Regions from separate parts of the Homo sapiens genome. Here region 1 is linked to region 2. Evidence: promoter capture Hi-C in human tissues and cell types (Jung and others, 2019). All regions are on one chromosome and are shown on one strand. Each heading gives the region's core, a stretch centred on a gene start or on the middle of the fragment in contact. The rest is flanking DNA. Distances are from core to core; before and after follow the strand shown.

Region 1 (6,137 bases), core at 980-3,479, 1.6 Mb before region 2:
CAGCCAGTATTTCGCTTCAGAGCAGCAACTGTCCCATGAGTAATAACAGATCTCAAGTAGAGGAGATCTATCATGTTAGAGGGCTTGGGTCATGGAGGGGATGGAAGCTTCTTAGGCAGCGAAGGGAGAGGGAGCCTGAGCCACCTGCTGCTCCCGCTAATTCCTCCCCAGTCCCAGTGCTTCTAGAGAGGGTTTTCTTCACATAGGAAGCCCTTCTCCACAGGCAGCTCCTGGGATGGTATTGATGGATGCCTGGGAAACATGAAAGCCACCGAAAAGGTAGAGAAAAAGAATATGGGAGTCCGGGGGTGGTGGCTGACACCTGTAATCCCAGCATTTTGGGAGGCTGAAGTGGGCAGATCACCTGAGGTCAGGAGTTCGAGACCAGCCTGGCCAACATGGTGAAACCCCATCTCTACTAAAAATACAAAAATTAGCTGGGCGTGGTGGCGCACGCCTGTAGTCCCAGCCACTCGGGAGGCTGAGGCAGGAGAATTGCTTGAACCCAGGAGATGGAGATTGCAGTGAGCCGAGATCATGCCACTGCACAACAGCCTGGGCAACAGGGTGAGAGTCCATCTCAAAGAAAAAAAAAAAAGGCCAAGTGTGGTGGTGGCTCACACCTGTAATCCCAGCACTTGGGGAGGCCGAGGCAGGTGGATCACCCGAGGTCAGGAGTTTGAGACCAGCCTGGCCAACATGGAGAAACCTCGTCTCTACTAAAAATACAAAAATTAGCTGGGCGTGGTGGCGCACGCCTGTAGTCCCAGCTACTCTACTCGGGAGGCTGAGGCAGGAGAATTGCTTGAACCCGGGAGGCAGAGGTTGCAGTGACCTGAGATCGCGCCAGTGCACTCCAGCATGGGCAACAAGACCGAAACTCCATCTCAAAAAAAGAAAAAAAAAAAAAGAATAATAATATGAGCACAGGAGTAAACTGGGTAGTGAGGACAGTGAGGTTGACTGCAGGAGCTTGACCACTCACCCTCTGACTCCTTGTAGAAGATGAGCTTCCTGGAATGGGCTAGGCTTTAGCTTTGTTCTCCTGCTCCCAAGAAAAGTGGGAGAGAGAGGGCAGTGGGCTCTTCTCTGGCCCTTTGGCCCAGAGTTGGGAAGCTGCAGCAGAGTGTGGGAGCAACTGGGAGGGGCTAAAACAAACAAGGAAAGAGGCTTTTCAGGAAAACTTGGTTCTCAGCCTCCACCCCCTCTCCCTCCACCCTCTGGGCTCTGGAGGGAAAGCTAGGAGGTGAATTGCCCTGTCCTGCCCTTGCCTGCTCTCTGTGACCTTGACTCCAAGTCAGAGCCAGGGCCAGAGCCCAGGTGTCTGTCAGGGCTGGACTCAAAATCAGGACCCCTGGCGTGCATCTAGCTCCCCACAGCACAGCACCACCACTAGCACCCTCCCTTTACTTGGCCGGGGTCCTCCCCAAGGCCCACAGCTCTGTTTGCTGCTGTGGAGGTCCTACCCACCCCCTGTATACTTGCTGGATGTTTGTTCTTCTAGGAGTGGGAGCTGGGGTGGGTCAAGACTCCTCGCCTGCTGCAATCAGTGAGAAGGAGGAGGGAGCAGAGGTAGAGAGAGCTGAAATTCAGTCAGCCTGACTCTCCTCTTGGCAAAACCTGGGTGGTTCTGCAGTCTGTGTGTGGTGTGAAGGCAGAGGCTGGGAGGGAGGGGGCAAAGGAGAGGGGTTACCCCCTTGCTCCTTCCTTCCTTCCTTTCCATTTCTTATAGGGCCCTTCCTTTTCTCCCTCACAAGTAATTCGGGTGTCTTTCTTCTACAGCTGGTGAGAGGAGTACAGAATGAAAAGGCAGGGTTCTCTCTTGGCCCCAGAAGCTTCTAGTCAGTCTGTGTACCCTGCTCCTTTCTCTGTCAGCAGCTGCTGGGAGAAGGGCAGAAACTCTGAGACCCAAAGCCACCAAAGGGAGGGGGGAAAGGCTGGGTTGTCTGGCTCTGGGTGATTCGGAGTAGAATCTTGGTTTCTCTTTGACCTCAACCTTGGCTGTAAGACCTTAAGACAACAGGTGTATCTCAACACAACCTTCCTCACCTATCCCTCCAGCTGGACATTGCTGTTCACTTCTTTTTTTTTTTGAGACAGAGTCCCACTCTATCGCCCAGGCTGGAGTGCAGTGGCTCACTGCAACCTCCACCTTCCGGGTTTAAGCCATTCTCCTGTCTCAGCGTCCCAAGTTGCTGGGACTGCAGGAGCACGCCACAATGCCTGGCTAATTTTTTTTATATTTTTAGTAGAGATGGGGTTTCACCATATTAGTCAGGCTGGTCTTGAACTCCTGACCTAAGGTGATCCACCCACCTCAGCCTCCCAAAGTGCTGGGATAGCAGGCGTGAGCCACCATGCCCGGCCTGCTGTTCACTTCTACACACACACACACACACCCCATTTCTCCCATAGCCCAGTTCAACTCAAGAAAGCACTTAACTCTTCATAAATAGTACTCAGATTGGATCCAGGTAGAAAAGATGCATATTCACAACCTGGTACAGCAAGGCACTGCCCTGGTTCTGCATACACTTCCACTTGGATTCCCAAGTCTGGGATTCTGGGGACGAACCTTCCCATTAGGGGCAGTGTTGGATCCTGCCTGTGTGTTTCCAAATATGTCTTTAATTTTCCTTGATTTATTTGGACTGCAGAGGACAGCAGACACAGAGGAGAAGAAGGAAAGGTATTGAGAACACTAAGCTCTGGTCAGTTATGTATGTGTGCACGTGTGTGTGTGTGTGTGTGTGATTCTATGACTATGAGTGAGACTGCATGTTTGTGTGTGAGTGTGAATGCTGTGTGTGTGGGTGTGCATGTTTGATCTGAGATCTGTTCTCCCTGTCAGTAGGTTGTTCTGGGTAACAGGGCAACACCCTGTGCAAATTCTGGGTGGCCTAAATCTTGGGCCAACTGCTTGACTGACTGACTGACTGACTGACTGACTGACTGAGGGTGGGTCCTTGCTGGAAACAGGTCAGGCTTCTGTAGATGCCTTCCCATCCCCCTCCTTTCTCACCAAGAAACCATTGCCCAGAGTAGAAACCTGTCTGCCCAGGTGATGCAAACCTGGTATAGAAATGCTGGGGATGCCCCTGAATCAGGGAACCAGCCATGTGCCTGGGAGAGACTCACTCCCTGCCCTCCTAAATCCTTTTCTTTGTCTCTAAAAGGCCAGCTATCTTTCCCAACCCCACCCAAAGCCTGGATGTTTTGGGGAGAACTTTAAGAACATGCCACAGGAAGGACAGAGTCTGAGCTAACTTGTTTCTCAGTGTGGTGGGGGGAGGGGGATGGAGAAAGCAAGGGCGAGGCATGAGCCAGGGCTGGGTTCCATGGATGTGTTTTGCCTCAGATTCTATCTTTACCTCACTACTGCTTTTTCCAAGGAAAGGAAACCATAAATATGTATTAAGTACCAACCGTATGCCAGGCACTGTGCAAAGTGTTTTGTACACATTATCTCATTTAATATTCACAACAACCCTATGCTGTAGGTCTCATTCTTATTTTAGAGATGGGGAAACTGAGACTTAGAGAACTTTATTAACTTGCCCAGGGTGCCAGAGGGTCTAGGTGATTAGTCTTGAAGCTGTAATTTGCATAGCACTTAAGACTGAGAAGATGTCCATCAAAGAATGATAGCGCGGATGGAGATTATTGGAGGGGCTAAATCTCCCCTCTAGCTATCTCTTGAACTACCACTGTCAGCGTCACAATGAAAATGGCAATGCTGGGGATTCAACCCCAGGCGTGAAGATGAAACTCTTTCTGCTAGCAAGACTGCCCCTCCTAGAGAGATTACTGCCACCCTAGGGGAACGTCTGAGCAGCAAACTCATCCTGGTGTTTCCCAAGCAATGGTGATGCTTGGAAGTGGGATATATCACCAAGAACAGAAGCCTGAAGCACCCCTTGTCCCTGTCCCAGGGAGTACCTCAGCTTTCCAAAATCTCTCTTTTAACCCCAGGCACATTTCCTCTTCCCCTAAACTCTTCCCACTCCCCGTCCTACATTTCCCTCATCTGGTTCTAAAAGTAGAAGGGGCAGGAACAGGGTGCACAAACCACAGACTGCTATAGAGGTGACTAACAGAAACAGGCGTCTGAACTCTCTTCTCTACCCAAACCCTCTGAATTTGGGGTCTGCTGCTGGTGGTGAGGAGAGTGGGGCAAGTAGGTCAGGGCCCTCTGAAGTCCCATGGTGCTTCATTCCAGGAGCTGTATTAAGAAGATTGGTTGAGGGAGCGTGTGGAAGGCCACCAAGGACCAACAAAAGTTGTGTCCAAAGCCTTAAGGAAACAGCATCCCACTTCCCCATTTACCTGCTTGAGCAACGTGCACCTCTAAAACCAGCCCTTCCGAAAGCCACTGTCCTGGGCCAATGCTTCTTCAGCAGATGCTTTGAAGAACCTGAAGAAGGGTCCCCTCTCTCAGAACCTAGGATCTCACCCACATCACAGGATCCTGGAGGAGGCATGGATTGTCCTTGGCAGTGGAGACTAAGCCCCAGATGACCCTTTTTCTGGCATCCAGTACATGCTCTGCTAAGGCCTCCTGTCCAATCTTTGCCATGCTGCTGGAGCCACAGTGGTATCATCTTCCAGGCCCCTGCACCTGCCCATTGGCTGCCCTTGAGCCTCTGTAGAACTCAGATGCAGGGAGAATGTGGGGGAGGTGGAGGAAAGGGAGAGGGGGTGCTCTGCATCTGCTTCCATCTCTACCCTTTATCCCAAGCTCCATCTCAAACCCTCTCCTTATCCAGTGTCTCTCCATCCTTTGGGCCTCTGCAGATCACCATTAGCTGCCTGGGGAGGCCAGAGGCTCATGACAGTCCTCGTGAGCAGAATGGACCTCGGAGGAGCGGTGGCCTGGGCAGGCATTAGGGGCCTTGTGTAGCTTCTGGGAGGCTTACATAAACACTGGCTGGGATGGGGAGGAAAGGGGGGTTGCAATGGCTGCCCAGGGAAAAAAGCAACCCCCGCCCGGCCGGCTCAGCCTGAGTGGAAAGAAGGAACAAGGCTTACTTTCCCTCCTCTCACTCCTCTCCCCTGGTCTGCAGCTGTTAGTCGGGCTGGAAAGACTGCGGTATCTTGGGGGAGGGGGGGCAGGAGAAGGAGAGAGAGAGGATGCGACTTCACAAATTTGGGATCCCTCCTCCTCTTCTAAATTGGGGGGAGGGCGAGTGGGGAAGAAGCAGTTTGCCAAAGAGATTTTCAATGCCGCAGGAAGGAGCTTTGGCTCATTAGAATGCGCAGTTTGCACCCTGGAAAAAAAAAATCTGTGCTGGTTGCAAAAATGCAGACGTGTGTAGGGGCCCAGCGGAGATTAAAAAAAAAAAAAAAAAGCGCTAGCTCTGCAATGCAGGATCTGCGAAGTTTTGGTGCGATGAGGAAATGTGGGTCGTGCTCATTTCATTTGCTTGTTCCTGCTAACCTACTGTCCCCCTGACTCTAGCATAGTCTCATAGCCCAGCAAGAGGCACCGCAGCTTAGAAATGGGGTCACGAGTAGGGGGCAGAAGCAGAGAGCCAGAAGTGGGGGTCTGTGGTTAGAGTGCCCAGAGAAGGACCAATGGAGGTTAGAGGGCCAGGCAGATGGAAGGGGGCACTTCAATGAGGGATGGAGGCTGAATTTGCCTTTTGCACACGCATTTGTTCTGCAGCTACACAGGGGTTATTGGGAAAGCCCTTCTAGGTTTCCTCCAGCCCTCGGCTCTTCCCCATCTCCAAGTAGCAGAGGGACTTTCCCCTTCCGGTCCACTAACCTCACAGACCACTGTTGCAGAACCTTTGCTTCATGTCCCCAAACACACAAATCCCTGAACTGTCCTTGTTCTAACCCTGGAGGGGGCACTTGCTGCGTGTGTGTGTCATCCTCCTTCCTAGAAAGAGGGGACAGGGTAGCCTGATTTGGGGAGCCCAGGCTACAGGGAAGCCAAGTCTTGGCTCTGGGCAGACATCAACACATCACCATGAGGGCTGGGGTGGGCTGTTCTGTGTTCTTGGCTTGGGAAGGTCCTTTGTTCTTTTGAGGCTTAGGGTTCTGGGTTGTGAAAACACCAAGGGGCTGCCTGGGAGGAAAATATGCTTGGGGAGACCATGTTTCTTTTCTGGGTGTTTGCTCCCCTGGTGGCT
Region 2 (6,462 bases), core at 2,507-5,006:
GGGATTACTTCACCTGTCTAAGCCTTAGTTTCTACTTCTTTTTTTTTTTTTTTTTTTTTTTTGAGACAGCGTCTCACTCTGTCTCCCAAGTACAGTGGCACAATCATGGCTCACTGCAACCTCACCTCCCCGGCTCAAGCAATCCTCCCACCTCAGCCTCCCAAATAGCTGGGACCACAGCCACGCACCACCACACCCAGCTAATTTTTGTATTTTTTGTAGAGATGGGGTTTTGCCATGTTGCCCAGGCTGGTCTTCAACTGTTGGGCTCAAGTAATCTGCCGGCCTCGGCCTCCCCAGGTGCTGGGATTACAGGCGTAAGCCCCCGTACCCATCAGTTTCTTCTGAAGAAGGGGTTCACACTAGCACTTAGGTCCTAGGATCATGGTGAAGAGTGATTGCATTCATTCATGCTAAGAGCTTATCAGTTCCTGGTACACGGCATTGTTATCGTTGTGATGACAGGGGCAGGGCCCACACACCTGCACCCTCGAGGGGGACGGAGATGGGTCCCAAGGTCTGGGATCTGGTCTTCAATTTGGTAGGCCCAGAAATTGAATTTTCTGCTCACCCAGCTAGTCGGTGTTAGAGCCATGATTCAAACCCTGGCCTCACCAGTTCCAAAACCCCCTGTACACCAGGAGGTCCAGCTTCCATAGACTCTATCCCTGCTGCCTCTTTCAGTGGCAGTTGGGCTGAGGTCCCTCTGAGTCACAGCTGGCAGGAGGGAAACCCTTGGATTCACAGAGTGATATGCTTAGGGAATTACCCTCCTTTAAGCCTTGGGGAAGGAGAACTCCCCCAAGTGTATAAAGCGTGTGCACAGACCTTGTCACCTCTTCCCTTCACTGCAGCCCTATGAGGTACAAATGAATGATTCCTATTTCCAAATGTGGTTAATTGAGACCCAGAGAGGATGGGGGAGAAGACGCAAAATGGATTAAATACCTGCGATATTCTCTTTTGTTTGTCTGTTTGTTTGAGACAGTCTCACTGTGTCACCCAGGCTGGAGTGCAATGGCACAATCTTGGCTCACTCCAACCTCCACTTCCTGGGTTCAAGCAATTCTCGTGCCTCAGCCTCCCAAGTAGCTGGGATTACAGGCATGTGCCACCACGCCCAGCTAATTTTTGTATTTTTAGTAGAAACGGGGTTTCACCATGTTGTTCAGGCTGGTCTCGAACTCCTGACCTCAGGTGATCTGCTTGCCTTGGCCTCCCAAAGTGCTGGGATCACAGGCATGAGCCACCGCACCCGGCCAAATATCTGCAATGTTTTGAGCACCGTGCAGGGCGCTTTATGTACATCACCTTCACGAGACCCTCCTCCCCAAGTTACTTTCCTCATTTCCTAGAGGAGAAAACAGCTCAGAGAAGGAGAGAAATATGCTCAAAGCTCAACAGCTGGAAAAAGACAGGACCAGGAAACCCTTCCTTTTCCATCAGACGAGGTCCCCTCATGAGGAGAACGTGCAGTCCGTGACTGGGGAGCTCCTCAGGGTCAAGGATGCTCATCTCTGAATGCAACCCTTCCCCTGCAGACCTGGCAGGGTCTGCAAATAGTGACATTCTTTTTTTTTTTTTTTTTTTTTTTTTGAGACAGAGTCTCGCTCTGTCACCAGGCTGGAGTGCAATGGCATGATCTCAGCTCACTGCAACCTCTCTGTGCCTCCCAGGTTCAAGCGATTCTCCTGCCTCAGTCTCCCGAGTAGCTGGGATTACAGGCGCCCGCCACCATGCCCAGCTAATTTTTGTATTTTTAGTAGAGTCAAGGTTTCACCATGTTGGCCAGGATGGTCTCGATCTCTTGACTTCGTGATCCACCTGCCTCAGCCTCCCAAAGTGCTGGGATTACAGGAGTGAGCCACCAAGCCTGGCCAAATAGTGACATTCTAACCATTGCCTATGGAATAGGAGACATGCTTCTATTTGTTGAAATTGTCATCCCTCATGTAACCAGCCTGGGGAAGAACATTCAAGGGGGCATAACCCCCTCCATGGGCACAAACTGAGTCTTGGGCTCTGGTACAACCAGGGTTCTACTGAAAACTTATCATTTCCCATTAGTGTTACCATAGCAACACGAATGTCTTCATTCATTCCCCTAGTGTATGAACAGAGCTACACTCACCCCACCTGTTCTCCCAAGCCCCCTCAAAGTCCTTTCATCTCTGAGATTCTGTGATTCAATTAATTATCACCAATGCCTGCACTGCTTTTTGTCGTTTTCATTTATTCCATCTGCTGAGTCACCGTGTCCTGCTCTAGATGAGAGTGGTTATTCACAACGGTTATTCAGCCGTCAGTTGCCATGGACACCGCACAGCCTGCTTCCTTCATCACCCATTAATTCTCAGCAAGGCTGGCTGTAAGCATGGGTACCACTGCAGTTACCCAATACCCAAGGGGATCAAACTCTCCCAGAAAAGGTGGGGGCCCAATGACGCATGAACAGGAGCAAAATCTCTGCTCTCAACAGTGGAAAAGTAAAAAACAGCCTACGGCTCATTACATCTGGTCAAACCATGTGGAGGCAGCAGTTTATCAAATAAGTCAACAAGGTACCATTTTGTTTTCTGGTCCATCTTTGGCAAATGCTTTAGTCTGTTTGCTAACCATTTGAAGGTATATTTTGATACTGAAAAGTTGTTGGCTGGGCATGGTGGCTCACGTCTGTAATCCCAGAACTTTGGCAGACTAAGCTGGGCCGATCATGAGGTCAGGAGTTCGAGACCAGCCCGCCCAACACGATGAAACCCCATCTCTACTAAAAATACAAAAAATTAGCCAGGCGTGGGGGCGTGCGCCTGTAATCCCAGCTACTAGGGAGGTTGAGGCAGAAGAATCGCTTGAACCCAGGAGGCGGAGGTTCCAGTGAGCCGAGATCACACCACTGCACTCCTGCACTCCAGCCTGGTGACAGAACTAGACTTTGTCTCAAAAAAAAAAAAAAGTTGTTATGCAGATTACTAGCTCCCCTTGAAAGCAAAATGAAGGAGGCTTCAAAGGCAGGACCCTCCAGGAATTGGTTCTGCATAGGGGGTTTGCAAGTGGTGGTGCATGGGCAGCTGACCTAGAAGACACGGGGCAGCTACAAGCCAAACCCAGCCCAGCACAGAGGGCCTAAGGAGAAGAAGGCACCAAGGGTGTTCCATGGTAGGGGGAGGGTGAAAGGACTTCAGAGGTGACCAGGATGTGAGCCACTAGAAGGAGAGAACAGGGCCATCAGCCCACAACCCATTGCTCCTGGTAACACGTTATGTTTGCAGAGTCCAGTGGAGGGGACGGGGAATCAATACATCACCCCACATTCACACGCTTGCCAAACATCAGTGGATGGCGAAATCCACTTTCCCTGAATCTAAGCCCATCGGGTTCACTCCCTCACCTACCACCACCCACAAAGGTCCCTATGTAGTTCGAGAGATAAGTGCCAGGCCTCTGACCCCCAGGATATGGTGGGAAGCATTGCTCCTGACCCAGGGAGCTTGGTTCCTGCCCCTCAGGTACAGCTGGAGAGCTGCCGCCACCCCGCTCCAGCCCCTCACCATGAAGGTCAACTCCCCTATCCTTCCCCCACATCCTGGATGACTGACTGACACTAAATGAAAGGGCGGGGCAGGGTGATGGGCTGTACCTGTGCCCCACCCCATTCCTCTCGCCTGGACTCATATGGCAGGGTAGGGGCGGGGTGGGGGGACAGTTGGGAGGGACCTTGAGGGCTTTATAAGGCAGGCCTGGAGCATCAAGCAGAGCAGAGACCTGAGAGGCACCAGGCCCAGCCGTGGCACCACACACCTCCCAGCTCTGCAGGTGAGAAAACCCAGGAGGAGAGGGGAGAGGCTAGGAAGTGGGTTGACAGGTCCTCTCCCCCATCAAGGTACCAGGCCACTGGCCAGAGTCTGGGGCTCACCCCTTGGGGTCTCCAGAGCTGGGACCCTTTCTTTATCCCAGGATGGAACTAGGTCTTGGCTCCAGTACCTACCCTGGTATTCCCAACCTTGCCTTCCACCTGCCCTTCTGCCGCAGCCGGGGCCCTGCCCTTAGCCTATCCCTTCACACTCTTCCCAGCCCTGGGAGGTGAGGAGGACTGGGGTTCTTCTCCTTTCTCTCAGACAAGAAAACTGAGGCCCAGAGGCAAGATGTGACTTGCCCAAAGTCACAGGGATTATTAGGCAAGGCTGGGATAGGAATCCACAGCTCCTGGATCCCACTTCAAGCCCTTTCCTAGACCAGTGCCATCCAAAAGAACGTCCTATGATGCAGGAAATGGTCTTCATCTGCACTGTTCAATATGGTAGCCACTAGCCACGTGTGCGCTTGAAATGGGGTTAGTGTAAGGAAGTTTTTGTTGTTGTTGTTGTTTGTTTTTTTATATAGAGTCTCGCCGTGTCACCCAGGCTGGAGTGCAGTGACATGCAACCTCTGCCTCCCAGGTTCAAGCAATTCTCCTGACTCAGCCTCCCGAGTAGCCGGGATTACAGGCGCCTGCCACAACACCCAGCTAATTTTTCATATTTTTGGTAGAGACAGAGTTTCACCATGTTGGCCAGGCTGGTCACAAACTCCTGACCTCAAGTGATCCAACCCCCTCAGCCTCCCAAAGTGCTGGGATTACAGGCGTGAGCCACTGCACCTGACCATAATTTTTTAATTTAATTAATTTAAATGTAAAGAGCCACATGTGGCTGGTGGCTATAGCACTGAACAACACATGTGGTTAGCATCTGACAATACAGCTCCAGATCACTGATTTTTCAAACATTTCTTCAGCAGCAGAATTCTTTTCTTCCAAAGAAAACCTAACAGAAAACCTGATTATGAAAAACTTAATGGCCAGGCACCGTGGCTCATGCCTGTGATCACAACACTTTGGGAGGCTGAAGCAAGCAGATTGCTTGAGCTCAGGAGTTCCAGACCAGCCTGGGCAACATAGTGAGACCTCATCTCTACTAAAAATAAAAACAAAAAAATTAGCTGGGCATAGTAGTGCACACTTGTAGTCCCAACTACTCAGGAGGCTGAGGTGGGAGGATCTCTTGAGCCCAAGAGGTCGAGGCTGCAGCGAGTCAGGATCACGCCAGCCACTGCATTCCAGCCTGGGAGACAGAGCAAGATTCTGTCTCACAAAAAGAAAAGAAAAAAAGAAAAACTTAAAAGCAGTACAGTATTTTATTAATACAAATGTATTCTGACAAGAGAAAATTTTTATCATTTTCTTATGATAAAGCCAATCAGAATAGTGAGACCAAAAGCATACAAAAATAGTGAGTCCAGGGAATAGATGAGCATTTGAATTTTATGTTTGTTTGAGATTCCAGTTTAGTTCTGTATTATGTTTTCCCCAAACTTGATTCACCCTGATACATAATTGCTAATGGTGACAGCTTAATTTTTTCTTAACTGCTTCATTATAATCACAGGATATTCCTCAGTTAAGCAAAAATGACAGGAGAACCTTTCCTCTCAGGGCTGCACAAAAATCAGTGTGAGCTGGCCAAGCATTGAATGTGCTGCAGTCTCCAAAGTGATAACATGCGGTCTGTAACACAGCTGGATGTCCATGTTCCTTTGGTATTACTATTTAAAAGTTTCACTTTTTGTTTTTGTTTTTTTGAGACAGGGTCTCACTCTGTCGCCCAGGCTGGAGAGCAGTGGTGCAATCTCGGCTCACTGCAACCTCCACCTCCCCGGTTCAAGCGATCCTCCCACCTCGGCCTCCCAAGTAGCTGGGAATACAGGTGCATGCCACCATGCCTGGCTAATTTTTGTATTTTTTGTAGAGATGGGGTTTCAGTATGTTGCCCAGGCTGGTCTCAAACTTGTGGGCTCAAGGGATCCATCCTCCTCAGCCTCCCAAAGTGCTGGGATTACCATGCCTGGCCTAAAAAGTTCACTTTAAATAACAAGTCTTGGGCTGAGCACAGTGGCTCACATCTGTAATCGCAGCACTTTGGGAGGCTGAGGCGGGAGGATTGCTTGAGCCCAAGAGTTCAAGACTAGCTTGGGCAACATGGTGAAACCCTGTTTCTACAAAAAATACAAAAAAAATTAGCTGGACGTGGTGGTGCAAGCCTGTAGTCCCAGCTCTTCTGGAGGCTGAGGTGGGAGGATCACCTGAGCCCAGGAGGTAGAGGCTGCAGTGAGCAGTGATTGCACTACTGCACTGCAGCCTGGGCGACAGAGTGAGACCCTGTCTCAATAAATAAATAAATTACATTACTTAAACAGCTACAGAACCACTAACATGGCCTCAAATTCTGCAGAACAGAACCTAGGGAAACCATTGCCCTAGGATTTGACTTTCTCCAATAGAAGCAGTGGCTGTAATCGGGGTAGGTAAAGAGAAAAAACACAAGACTTCGGGGCTGGTGTGGAACTGGCAGAAACTGGAGAACTGATCTGAAGAAATAGTCCACAACTCCACACAGAATTGCAGACTCACCCGGGTGCGGTGGCTCA

What was found. The method cuts DNA at HindIII sites, captures the fragments that hold promoters and counts their contacts. A contact is called where the count stands out against the background at its distance.
Region 1: a contact is called between a fragment that was not itself captured here and the fragment with the promoter of GAST in region 2, in 1 of the 25 tissues and cell types used here (dorsolateral prefrontal cortex).

The regions. Positions count from the first base shown.
Region 1 is chr17:40,101,980-40,108,116 of GRCh38, forward strand. No RefSeq gene overlaps it. Among named protein-coding and RNA genes, the nearest start is that of NR1D1, 4.5 kb to the left of the region's middle. RefSeq lists enhancers at 983-1,862, 4,767-5,396, 5,833-6,137. The HindIII fragment of the contact is 5,880 bases long and covers 1-5,169 here.
Region 2 is chr17:41,708,575-41,715,036 of GRCh38, forward strand. It overlaps GAST (gastrin), which reads left to right and starts at 3,757. Exons shown (of 3, transcript NM_000805.5): 1 at 3,757-3,813. RefSeq lists an enhancer at 1-122. The HindIII fragment of the contact is 8,154 bases long and covers 1-6,462 here.